Linked DNA regions of Homo sapiens: region 2 is linked to region 1. Evidence: promoter capture Hi-C in 16 types of primary human blood cells and fetal thymus (Javierre and others, 2016). All regions are on one chromosome and are shown on one strand. Each heading gives the region's core, a stretch centred on a gene start or on the middle of the fragment in contact. The rest is flanking DNA. Distances are from core to core; before and after follow the strand shown. Region 1 holds the start of SAFB2 (scaffold attachment factor B2). Region 2 holds the start of SH3GL1 (SH3 domain containing GRB2 like 1, endophilin A2).

The links. Contacts are between HindIII fragments. The CHiCAGO score rates a contact against its expected background, and 5 or more counts as called.
Region 2: the fragment with the promoter of SH3GL1 here is called in contact with the fragment with the promoter of SAFB2 in region 1 in 2 of 17 cell types (neutrophils and fetal thymus); the score reaches 6.1 in neutrophils.

What each region holds. Positions count from the first base shown.
Region 1 is chr19:5,618,817-5,625,040 of GRCh38, reverse strand. SAFB2 (scaffold attachment factor B2) reads left to right here and starts at 2,265. Exons shown (of 21, transcript NM_014649.3): 1 at 2,265-2,511; 2 at 3,645-3,732. The coding sequence starts at 2,326. It overlaps SAFB (scaffold attachment factor B), which reads right to left and starts at 1,958. Exons shown (of 21, transcript NM_001201338.2): 1 at 1,647-1,958. The coding sequence starts at 1,835. RefSeq lists enhancers at 796-1,527, 1,528-2,260, 2,181-2,520, 2,994-3,726 and silencers at 1,501-1,550, 2,521-2,640, 3,645-3,865. The HindIII fragment of the contact is 4,337 bases long and covers 262-4,598 here.
Region 2 is chr19:4,398,046-4,404,769 of GRCh38, reverse strand. It overlaps SH3GL1 (SH3 domain containing GRB2 like 1, endophilin A2), which reads left to right and starts at 4,223. Exons shown (of 10, transcript NM_003025.4): 1 at 4,223-4,446. The coding sequence starts at 4,402. It overlaps CHAF1A (chromatin assembly factor 1 subunit A), which reads right to left and starts at 2,130. Exons shown (of 15, transcript NM_005483.3): 1 at 1,956-2,130. The coding sequence starts at 2,007. RefSeq lists enhancers at 977-1,672, 1,673-2,370, 4,033-4,862 and silencers at 1,883-2,162, 4,125-4,634, 4,695-4,744. The HindIII fragment of the contact is 26,532 bases long and covers 186-6,724 here.

The DNA.
Region 1 (6,224 bases), core at 1,016-3,515:
ACAGCGAGTGATGGGAAGTCTCAGTCACCAGCTTGACAGGAAGATCACAGCAGCTTTTCAGGCCTATGGACCGTCCAGGGAGAAAAAAAGGATAAAGCCTCTTAATTTGGCTTAGCTGATGGGAGGCCCTGGTGGCGGGGCACCACACCTGACCAGCCGCCAATCTCCACTCTCTGCATTTTCTCTGGGTAAATATGTAGATCAGTGGGCTTCCTGCCTTATCTGAGTAAAGAGAATCCATAGTGAAAAGAAACACAAGCTTGAGCTTTTAAAAGGCCCATGTGACTCTGGCCGAGACAACTATCCACCCTTGAGCCCAGGGTTTCTCATCAGGAAAAAAAAAAAAAAAAAAATCCCTACTTCTTCTCATCACCAATTAATAATAAAGCCCTGTGATCTCCGTAGTTCCGGAGTCAGGATGGTGGGATGTGTCAACAGCCCCACTGCCTGCAGGGGCTGGGGGGTGGGCGGCCAGGCGGAGCAACTACAGGGGAGAGGTCCCAGAGTAGCCAGGTGGAAAAAAGGCAGAGAAAAAAAGCTACAGGAATAAGGAAACCGCAGGTGGCTAACCTTTACTTGCCTCTCTGCTTTTCCTAGGGATCCCTTTGAATCCCCCAAGGGAGGCGTTAGAGCCCCCGATCTGCAAATGAGGACTCGTGGTGGCACAGAGAGGAAAAGCGAATCGTGATGGCAACCACACACCGAGTGTTTACATGCGCCAGGCAGCACGCCAAGCCTGCTCCACGCAAACTTATTTAATCCCCAAATCAAAGTCCTATTGCTTTTTTGCTTCTTACAGGAGAAAAAAAAAAAAAAAGAATAGAAAAGAGGACTCAGAAGGGGTTCAAGGTCTCCTATGCCCAAGATCAGGCCACCGAGAGCTGGCAGGGTCCCCAAGTCCAGAGAGACTGACGGAGCTGGGGGAGCCCAGGCTCTGCCCGCCTCCCGGGCAGTTCTGAGGCTGGTTTTAAAGTCCACCCGGGGTCTCCCCTCATTTCACATTTCTGATCACTACCGTCAACACCACTTTTCCTTCCTGCCACGTTACTTCACCGAGCGAGTACCGGCAAACCGTGAAAACTGGATTGTGGTGGGTTTTTTTCTATTTTTCCCTTTGAGTATGTCCTACGGGTGTTTCCTTTGTAAATCAGCCCCGATTCAGGCTGGTCGGTCCCCTGTGGGTCACAAAGCATCTTCCCTGGGGAAACCAAGCAGCCGAATCAGGAATCCCAGGGCCTGGGTTCAAATCCCGACGCTGCCCGTCCTCGGCCGTGTGACCTTGGCCGAGTCCCTTCCCCTCGCCTGGGAAGTGAGGGTTTCAGGGTCTCCCCTCCAGGTACGGAGGAGGGGACGAGACGAGGGGAGAACCCTCCTCTCAGTGGACGATGTCACCCGTCACCGTTTCTCCTGCACGCGTGCCGTTTTTGTGGTTCTCCTGGCCCCATTGCGGCGTTAGGATTTGAACCCAGGCCCAGCCGGCCAAGGAACTCTCTCCGGGGCCTCGGAGGAGCCGGGGGACGCGAGAGCGCCAGGTCCGGCGAGGCCGCGAACGCGGCCGGGGGCGGACGCCAGGGCCCGCGAGCCACCGTCGCGGCCAAGAGGACCCCAGACCCACCCTGTGCCCGCCCTCGGGGCCCCAAATCCACCTTCTTCAGCCGCTCCATCAAAACGCTCTTGTTGCCGCTCGAGTCCACATTCCGTTTCCTCAGCTCCGCCCGCAGATCGATCACTCGCAGGTCGCTGAGGCGCCGCGTCCCGGTCTCTGACGAGGCGGAGCTCAGAGCCGCCGCGCCCGCCGCTCCAGAATCACCTAGGCCTGACAGAGTCTCCGCCATTCCAGGGACCCTGGCTCCGCCGCCCACTTTCCACAGAACCGGGCCGGTTTTATCAGGCTCCTAGCACAAAATGGCGCCGCCTGCGAGGGAACCGCTCCAGTCGCCCCAGCGCGCCTCGCTTCTGCGCAGGCGCACCAAGCGTAGGTTCTAGTATCCCGGTTGCAACTGCACATGCGCAGTGAGAACAACGCGGGGATGTGCGCAGACGCGTTGCGTCTCGTCAGCCTCCCGCCGGGAACTGCCGGGACGCATGCGAGCTGCAGATTCAGCGCTTGCGCGTTGTGCCGGGGAACCCGCGGTTGGTGGACGCGCGAGCGTCCTTGCTGCTAAGTACGCTAGTGGGGGCGGTGCGCGTGCGCGTGCGCGGCCGCAAAGCGGGGCGGGAGGAAACGAGTGCGTTTTCCTCTTAGGCGGCGCCATTTTGTGTTCAGAGCCGCTATAGCTGCCGGCGGTGTGCGACTGAGTCGGTGGCGAAGACGGGAACGCGACGATGGCGGAGACTCTGCCCGGGTCGGGCGACTCGGGCCCTGGCACGGCTTCTCTCGGCCCGGGCGTTGCGGAGACTGGGACGAGGCGGCTCAGCGAGCTGCGGGTGATCGATCTGCGGGCGGAGCTGAAGAAGCGGAACCTGGACACGGGCGGCAACAAGAGCGTCCTGATGGAGCGGCTCAAGAAGGTGAGGCGGCGCGGGGCTCGGGGGTGGCGCAGGAGGCCCGGGCACGCCCCCGCCTGCACCTGTCACCGCGGCTCCCGGACCCGGGGCGCCCTGGGTTCGCCCCGCGTCTTGGCCGACCCCGGTTCGAGGTGTCGGGCACCCAGGGGGCCGGCTGTGTGACCTTGGCCCGTCACCGCTCCTCTCTGTGCCTCCCTTCCTATCCTCTTTCCACCTTTTCTCCTCAAGCGCGCTCAGCGTGCGGTCTTCTCCGCTACCAGGGTGGCCCCGGGACCCCTCCTGGGGCTCCCGATCGAGCCTTGGCTCTGTGACCTTGGGCAGGTGCCTTTCTCTCTGTGCCTCAGTTTCCTCCTCCGGAGAATGGGTGTCTGGCGGACTCCAGAGCATTTACAGGAAAGGGGGCGGTGCTTGTTCTTGCCCCAGGGCTTTGGCCTTTACGAAGCTGTCCACCCGGGTCCCCCAGATCTTCTCGTGGCCGGCCCCTTGTTGTCATTTTGGGTCTGCCTGAGACATCACCTTCCTGAGCGCCCTTCCTAATGCGCTGCCCCACCTCCTTGCCAGCTCATCCTGCGTTTGTGTCGCACCTCGCTGAAAGCAGGGGCTAAATGCAAAATATTAAGGGGTTGGGAATTGTCTGTTTCCGCAACTGGAACAAACAACTTGAGCATAGGGAGGGAGCTTGTGGGTACCCAGTCCTGGACCCGGCAGGTGGCAGGCACTGAGGGACCTGTTGAATCTCCCCAGGCTGGCTGCTGTTCCTCCTCACCAGCGGTGGCCAGCCCTTCACCGAGGCCGGGCCAAGTGCAGCCTCTCTGTTCTAATTTGTCCCATCATATAACTTTAAAGTCGAAGGTTTGGCATTGTCGAGTTGAGTTGCCATTTTGGAACTGGTCCTTGACCCCAATTCTGGAGCTCCTGCTCACAGCCTCCCTCTCCTTTGTCATTTGGACCCAGAGAGACCCAAGTTGTGCGGGGTTCCTCCTCCGCCTTTTGGGCTTGCGGCCCAGATAGCTGACCCGGAGTTGCTCTTTGCAAGGACGGGTTTGCCTTTGTTTCATGGGAGGTTGTTACTTGTAAGGAACAGTGTGTGCCCTGCAGCTCTTAATGATGTTGTAAAACTCATCTCTCCCTAATAGGCGGTTAAAGAAGAGGGGCAAGATCCTGATGAAATTGGCATCGAGTTAGAAGCCACCAGCAAGAAGTCAGCCAAGAGATGTGTTAAAGGTATTGTACATATGCTGCTTGGGGCTTGAGTGTTCAGAGAATTTAGAGAAATGGTGTGTAGTGTGCTCTTCCCGCCTTCTAGGCTGGGAGAATTTCTCTGGTACTCGGTGTCCCTCCACTAAGAGTTAGCTTTGCTCGTCACCACCTAACAGGTAGCTCTGTCAAGGGCACAGGGAGGAGGAAAGAGATGTACAGGTGCCAAGTGCAATTAAAATATACGAAAAACGTTTCAGCTTCTGCCATTGGGATTAAAAGTCAACTAGAGAAAGACAAGCTCTTAAAGCTACTTCTACGGGTCTGAGGAACCAAATGTACCTACTTGGCTTCCTTCCTGGTTCAAAAAATAGGTCTTAACCCAAAGAAAAGGACACCAACCTGAGACCGAATAGAACTCAGCTTTGCTAGGGTCCAAAGTAGATTGTTGGGGTATTTGCACTCAGCCTATTTTTTACTATTACGGTTTTTGAATGTGAAGGTTTAATTCACAGACCGTTAAATTCATCAGGTTAAGGTGTACAATTCAGTGCTTCCTAGTGTATACACAAGGCTCTGCCACCACCACCACCGTCTCCTTCTGGATTTTCATCACCCAAAAAGGAAACCCGGTCCTCATTAGAAGTTAGTCGCCTTACTTTTCTCCCTCCAGCCCCTGGCAACTACTAATCCATGTTCTGTCCGCATAGATTTGCCTATTGTGGACATTTCATGTAGATGGAATTGTACAACATATGGCCATTTGCATCAGCTTTCACGTAGCATAATGCTTAAAGTTCATCTGTGTTGTAACATGTATTGATACTTCATTCCTGTTTATGGCTGATACCAGTTATTTTTGAAAGCATTGAATTCCATAAAACTTTGAAGCTTTGACTATCCCAGTTGGTATTGTTAGGTTTTATGGTGATAAGGATAATATAATTTAGGTTTCCTGTGCAGGGGGCCTGTTTTCTTGGAAAAGTGCTAAATTCAGGCAGTGGAGGATCAGTGCTTAGAAAGTAGAAAGAAATTGTAGCATTTTTAACAATTTCATTTTTTTAATAGCTTTTTCTTCTTAATGTGTTTCATAACACATTAACTGTTTAAAACATGTGCATGTAGTTTGAAAGATTAAATCTTTTAGTTAGGTTGCATAAGAGCTTTAAGTTAAAGTTTAATTTTGACACATGGATGCGTTTTTGCTGTTCTTGTGAGTGTCCGTATTTCACCTAGAAGGCCCAGCCTGAGCACATTCAGAATGTGAGAGACTGGTCTACGCAGGAAATATAGTTTATCTCTTCTGTTTAGGTGTTAACTTATGCATGATGTGAATTTTCTTTTTTTAGTGGTTGGGAAAACTGCTTAACAATAAAGTTTAAAAGTTTTTTATGTAGGTGCTCATTTTAAAACTGTAAAGTTCAAGACTTACTACTCAAAATATCCTTGGCTTTTAGCAGGAATTTAACAGGGATTTTTTTTTTTTTTTTGCGATGGAGTTTTGCTGTTGTTGCCCAGGCTGGAGTGCAGTGGTGCGGTCTTGGCTCACTGCAACCTCCGCCTCCCGGGTTCAAGTGATTCTTGTGCCTCAGCCTCCTGAGTAGCTGCGATTACAGGTGCCCGTCGCCACGCCCAGCTACTTTTTTATATTTTTAGTAGAAACGTGGTTTCACCATCCATGTTGGCCAGGCTGGTCTCGAACTCCTCACCTCAGGTGATCCACCCGCCTGGGCCTCCCAAAGTGCTGGGATTAGAGGCATGAGCCACTGTGCCCGGCCTAGCAGGGATCATTTCTAATGATCTTTGCATCATTAGAAAAACTAAACTTTAGCTGAGTGCTTTGAAGACCTGCCTGAATGTCTAGATTAAAGCTTAGGTGGATTCAAAACTACTTGGAGTTAGTGTTTTGTCAGGAAAGCTTGGATGATAAAGTTCTTCTGTTGCTATAAAAAGGACTTTTGTAGCCTCAGCTCTAGTGAGGGTTAGAAGGGCTTCTGATCCCTTCCCATTCCTTTTTCAGAGAAGTAACCAAGCCCAGAGAGAGCCCAGGTCTTCAGGTGGTGCTCAGGCCCTGCAGGCCTCATCTTCCATCCTGAGCTGGTGATGTTCTCTAGAGGTGTCGGGGCACGTGGCTAATGGATAAAGCACAAGAGCCTTAGGACTTTGTGGTTGCAGTTAGGGCCTGTGATTACATACAACTGTTAGATCAGGAGGAATTCACCAGTTAATTTTCGTTTCAAGCACTATGCAGCAGTGTTCAGTTGAGTCCAAAGTTGGACTCATTCTGGGAACTCACCAGTAACTGCTTCCTTGCAAAAACTGAAGTAGCCAAACTTGTTGAGGGAAAAGTGTCCTCATTATAAATCAGAGTAAGGGTCTTCACCAAGATTAGGAGTCCTAGGCAACATTGTAGGTGGGTTTGGAAAAAATAAAACTTGGATTAAAAATTTAAGTTTTAGATGCCATGTGGGATTAAAGTTGGATTTTCTTACATCTGTGTCCCCAGCAGCGGCAGCTTT
Region 2 (6,724 bases), core at 2,974-5,473, 1.2 Mb after region 1:
AGTTTAGGAAGCTCACACTTACCAGGAGATCTGGCTTGGCAAAACCTAGTTTAGTTATTTTGGTTAATCTACGTATGTTTTGTAAGCATTACATAAAAGTGAGTACTTTTTAAAAGCAGACTGGGGCTTCCTAAAAAACTCCATCGTCCATACATGAAACCACCCCTCACCCACCGCCCCAAGCTTAGTGAATAAGAAAAGGTACTGAGAAAATTCATGTTTCCTTTCTAGCCACTTCAAAGAAATAAAGACAGTATCATTCTCAAGTGTCCACTTACCAAAAGCCATGGATTTCTACCCCCTAACTGAAGGATATGATTTTTAGTCACTTAACTTTATTTTCGAGACAATCACAAAAATCTATTTGTGTGGCTTTGAGTCACTAGCTTTGGTGCAAGTGGAACAGAAACAACCTCATTAAAAACAGGACCCACCCTCATTAAAAAATCTTGTATATAAAACGGGACACTCCCAATCCAGAGATCCAAAGATACACACGATTAACACATATGTGTGTATAAAGTTACTAACTGCTCTTTATTCTGCGATTACATCCTTTCTAATTTTATTTGGCACTAAAATATACTTTCCTTTCATGATAGCATGGTCCTAGCGAGTAGCGATTTTTTTTTTTAAAGTTAAATATCCTGGCCAGGCATGGTGGCTCATGCCTGTAATCCCAGCATTTTGGGAGGCCAATGCAGGTGGATTACCTGAGGTCAGAAGTTCGAGACCAGCCTGCCCAACATGGTGAAACCCCGTCTCTACTAAAAAATACAAAAATTAGCCAGGCATGGTGGTGCAGGCCTGTAATCCCAGCTACTTGGGAGGCTGAGGCAGAAGAATCGCTTGAACCAGAGAGGCAGAGGTTGGGCAACAGAGCAAGACTCAGTCTCAAAATAAATAAATAAATAAAGTTAAACATCCTGACTTAAAACATCACAGCTCCACGACAGTACCAACTTTATATTAATTTTATGTCTCCGGGAAATCCCACAGGCTAGAAGGAACTACAGCCATGATTTTCAGCCAAGGCGGAATCTGCCCCATAGGGGACACAGGGCAATGGTATTTCTGGCTGTTACTAAGGCATGGTGAGAGGGGCTGCTACTGGCCTGCAAAAGGCGGAGGCCAGGGATGATGCTTAACACCCTGCAGTGCCGTGCCCAGGACGGCAACAAATATCAACACTGCTGAGGCTGAGAAACTGGACTGGCGTCCATTCTAGCCCTTCATTCGTTCACGTTATTTACTGAGCACCTACTATGTGCCAAAGCGTAATGCCAAGTGCTGCCAAAGCGTTATGTAATGCAGAGTCCAGCAAGGGAGAGGGACAGTCTGGTCTTCCTTGGTTCACCCTCCCACGTTTCAGGAGGCCTGTGGTGGGCTCCAAAGACCCCATTCCAAGGCACACGGAGGAGGAAGTCACGGTGCATATCAGGAAGGAGCAAGAACTCGGGAGTCCCACCCTCCTGGCCATCTCTACCATCTGGGCCTCTTCTTACCCGGGCTTACCCCGACCCTCAGCGGCATCGGTACTGGTCCCCGAGCCCGTGCGACCTTGGGCCTCAGTTTCCCCACCCGCTGCAAGGTCCAACATGGTCAAGGGACACAAACGCATCCAGTAACCTGCAGGGCAAGCCCTTTCGCTTCCCTGGGCCTCAGTTTCCCCTCTCGGCCCCTCCGACCCACCGCCCCAGAGAGTCCTGGAGGGACGAACTGACGCAAAAGCGCCGGAAACAAACAATATGGTCGCGGCTACAACAATAACGTCAACAAGGGTGCCCTTGGGGACGCCAGGCCCTCGCTGGGGATGAGAAGGCCCCAGGGGGTGAACGCCCGGCCCGCAGGACCAGGCTTGGCGCCCGGAGGCCCGTCCGCCTCCCATCGCCGCCTCGGCCCGTCCAGGCCGCGCGCCGCGCCCCCCCTTCCCCTCGGCGCGGGCCCGAACCGACCTGTGGCGGCTCCCCTGGCGCCGGGCGCCCCGCACTCCAGCTCCTCCAGCATCGCCCCGGCGGCAGCTCGACCTCCTCTCAGGCGGCGGAGGCGCGGGCTCCCCTCAGGCGGCCGCTGCTCTTCGCCCTCCCGCCCGCGCCGCTGCTGCCGCCGCGGCCGCCGCGCTCGTATTTGGCGGGAACCGCGGCGACCCCCGCAGTCCGCGCGCCAATTGGGCGAGCCCGGGTCACGTGACGGCCCGCCTCGGGAATTGAGGGGCGCCGGGGGCATCCTCGCGAGATCCGTGACTTCCATTCCTCCCAGGGCTCGCCCATTGACATATCCGCGAGGGACTGGGCTTCCCCTCGGAGGCCTGTCATTGGCTGGGAGGAGCTGCCCTGCGATTGGAGGAAGGAGGTGTCAAGCTCATTGCTCTGCGCTGCGACTGGCTGATCGCGTGGGATAGTCCCTAAGAGGAGGGAGGCCCAGGCTCTTACGTCACCAGAACATTTTACGCAAGGCGCAGATGACAACTTGAAAGTGGGATTTAGATGAGGAACCTGGAGTTTTGAGTTTATCCTAATGGGACATCGGCTAAATATAGCAACAGCAATTAAAATTATAAATTGCTTTCTACAAGAACAATAAAACGAAGTCTGGGGAGCGCTTCGGAAGTATTTGACATTCAGTAAATAACATGTAGAATGAGTGAACGAAATGGACGAAATGGATCGTTTCTGGTTTAATCCTCAGGAAATTGGCACATGCTGTTTTCTCTGCCTAGAACAATCTTTTCGCAGCTCTTTTCCTGGCTAATTTATACTTTTCAGATCTTAGATCGTCACCCCAGGAAGCCTTTTCTTCCCCAACCCTGACAATATCAAGTGCCTACAACACTGTTCTTTTCCTTAAAGCAATTACAGCTGTGTCTATTTATTAGTTTGTTATTTGACTAATGAATTAATTTCTGCCTTTTGTCATTAGTTCTGGCGAGGGTAGGACTCATTCCTCACTGGAACCCCAGGACCTGTTAGTAACTGATCATATTTACCAGGTCAATAAATGTTTGAGTGAATGTATAAATATTTGATTGAACTGTGTAGATCAAGCAGATTAAAAGCCTCACACAAAACAGAGAACTTCAGTGTCAGCCTGTGAGTGTAGAAACAGGTTTTCTTTCTTTCTTTCTTCCTTCCTTCCTTCCTTCCTTCCTTCCTTCCTTCCTTTCTTTCTTTCTTTTTTCTTGAGACGGAGTCCCTAGTAGCTGGGACCACAGGCGCCCGCCACCACGTCCGGCTAATTTTTTCTATTTTTTAGTAGAGACAGGGTTTCACCGTGTTAGCCAGGATGGTCTCAATCTCCTGACCTCGTGATCCGCCCACCTAGGCCTCCCAAAGTGCTGGGATTACAGGCGTGAGCCACCGCCCCTGGCCCTGAATTGCATTCTAGAAGCATCTTTCTGGCTGCCATGACAAGGAAGAATTGGAGGGGAGGACTGGTGGAAAGTATGGTCAAGGCATGAAGACAGACCTAGATGTCTAGATGTGTCACGTGGGCAACTGAATGGATGAACACAGGACAGAGAGAGAGAGGAAGAGAGGTGGCCGGGCACGGTGGCTCATACCTGTGAGACCAGTACTTTGGGAGGCTGGATTTGGTGGGGGGGTTGGGGGTTGGATCACCTGAGGTCAGGAGTTCGAGACCAGCCTGGCCAACATGGCGAAACACTGTCTCTACTAAAAATACAAAAATTAGCCTAGCATGGTGGTGCGCGCCTGTAATCTCAGCTACTTGGGAGGCTGAGGCAGGAGAATCGCTTGAACCCGGGAGGCGGAGGTTGCAGTGAGCCGAGATCACGCCACTGCACTCCAGCCTGGGAGACAAAGCAAGACTCCGTCTCAAAAAAAAAATAAATAAATAAATAAAAATGGGAGGGGGCTGAACACTTAGACGAACTGGATTTAGCTAAGATGAGTAAACAGGAATCTGAAGAATCGTAAGCAGGGGCCCCTTCTACTTCCCAACCTCCCTGGCCAGGTTTAAACTAAGCGCGTTTTCCAAGACGTTAGGGTCACCTCCACGACTCCAGGGGGCGCTGCAACTGCTACGGCCCCTCTAGGCTCGCCCCGCTCAACTCACTGACAGAGGCGGCCTCTCCCGCGGTAGACAATGTGCACGTGCGCTCTTCAGCCGGCAGAGGGCGCGCGTGCGCAGACGGGGCCGGGGGCGCGCGCGGGGGCCGGGGGCGCGCGCGGGGGCCGGCACCGGAAGCGTGCGGTTGCCATGTAATATCCTGGCCGCGCGGGCGCGCGAGCGGCTGAGGCGGCGCCGGGGCGGGCGCGGAGCTGGCAAGCGGGTGGCGGAGGCGGCGCCGACGGGGACTGCTGAGGCGCGCAGAGGGTCGGCGGCGCCCGGGAGCCTGTCGCTGGCGCGGTCCGGGCGGGAGGCTCGGCGGCGGGCGGCAGCATGTCGGTGGCGGGGCTGAAGAAGCAGTTCTACAAGGCGAGCCAGGTGAGCGCAGGCCCAGGCGGGAGCCGAGTACCGGGCCCCGGGCTGCCCGGATGAGGGAGCCAGGCCCGACCTGGCCCGGGAGGGGGCCGGGGGGACCGAGGTGGGGACGTTGGCGCGTGTCCCCTGCCAGGTGGGAAGACCAAGGGACGGACGGGGGCGACGAGGTGGCCCAGGCCCTGCCCGCCATGCGGGCTCCAGAAGCGGGGACAGAGCCCCTGGGAGGAGGGGAGAGGCACCCTGGGCTGCCCAGGGACGCGGACCTCTCCCCTCCTTCTCTCCGCTGCAAAGGCGGGGTGCGGGGAGAGAAGGGGAAGAGAGGAGTCCCGAGGCTGTCGACACAGGACTCTTGCCAGATAACCCAGAGCCAGGGAAAAGTTGCGTCTAGAGCAGTTACGTTCAAAATCCTCTGGATGGGCAAGGTACAAAGTTGAAAAGGTAGAGGAAGAAGTCAGTTTCCCCTCTCTGCTCCTCGGGCAGCCAGCCCTTCTCCCCAGAGACAAGCGACTGTCATCGACTCCGTATGTCCCTTTCCTAAGATACGTGTGTGCCTTTCCTTTAAAAACACGTACCCTGTGATAGCATATGCCACAGAATCCTGTGTGCTGTGTTTTTCATTGCTTGGAGATCACACTGGAGCGGGATTTCTCCCCCTCCGTCGGCACTGTTGACATCTGGGGCTGGATTGTTCTCCGTGGTGGGGCCGTCCTGGGCACTGCGGGGTGCTGAGCAGCGCCCCTGGCCTCCACCCACTCCGGGCCAGGAGCACCCCCAAGTCGTGACAACCAAAAATATCTTGAGACATCACCGTGTGTCCCCTTAGAATCAGTCCTCCTTCCCTCCCTTCGTTCCTTCCTTCCTTCTTTCCTTCCTTCCTCCCTCCCTCCTTGCCTCTCTCCCTCCCTCCCTTCTCTTCTTTCCTTCCTCCCTTCCTTTCCTGTCCCCCAGGACTACTGCTCTAGACCATACTCCACACTTCTTGGATTTTTTTTTTTTTTTTTTTTTTTGAGAGGGAGTCATGCTCTGTCGCCCCAGCTGGAGGGCAGTGGTGCAATCTCGGCTCACTGCAAGCTCCGCCTCCTGTGTTCAAGCAATTCTCCTGCCTCAGCCTCCCCAGTAGCTGGGACTACAGGCATGCGCCACCACGCCCGGCTACTTTTTGTAATTTTAGCAGAGACAGGGTTTCTCCATGTGCCCCAGGGTGGTCTCGAACTCCTGGCCTCAAGTAATCCGCCTGCTTCGGCTTCCCAACATGCTGGGATTATCGACGTAAGCCACCTGCCTGGCCTACTTGGCTCTTTTTAATGGGTACATTGTATTTCATTCCATGACATATACCATAATTTATTTAACCAGTTGTCAGTTGATAGATATCTCTATTGTTTACCGGAATTTTCTGTTACCATTACTACAATAAATAGCCAGTGAATATCTTTGCTCACCAGTGGGATTAGTTTTATAGGATGAATTCCCAGAAGTAGAATGCTGCATCCCAGCCTAAGTGCATTTGATATGGACAGATAAAGGGTTTTTTTTGGAAACTCCAGGGCCCACTGCTCATGAATCTGGTGAAAGCTGTGGATCCACTCTCCAGAAAACTGGGCACATTTAAAATTTTCACTTTGCAATTTCGAATGCAAGAAGCCTCAAATTTGGCCGGGCGCGGTGGCTCATGCCTGGAATCCCAGCAGTTTGGGAGGCCGAGGCGGGCGGATCACTTGAAGCCAGGAGTTTGAGAGCAGCCTGGGCAACATGGCAAAACCCCATCTCTACTAACAATACAAAAATTTTGTATTTTTGCCTGTAACCCCAGCTACTAAGGAGGGTGAGACAGGAGAATCTCTTGAATCCGGCAGGCAGAGGTTGCAGTGAGCCGAGATTGCACCACTGCACTCCAGCCTGGGTGACAGAGCGAGACTCCGTCTTGAAAAAAAAAAAAAGACAAGAAGCCTCAGATTGTTGAATCCTATTGGTCCGTGTACTGCAGGGTGAGGTTGTGTGGAATTTGTGTAGATAGAGTCCACCGAGGAATGAGCAATGATCTTAGCAAATGCTTGGGCCAAGGTGGCAAACAGGGTTCTCTGCCCACAGTTCGGAGATGCCCAGTGGGAGCAAAGAGAAACGAGTCCCCAGTAACACCCAGCAGGTACCTTTGCCCCTGGAAAGAAAAAAGTAAGGACCCTGCCAGGTGCTGTGGCTCATGCCTGTAATCCCAGCACTTTGAAGGCTGAGGCAGGGGTTCCCTTGAGTTCAGGAGTTCAAGACCAGCCTGGGCGATATA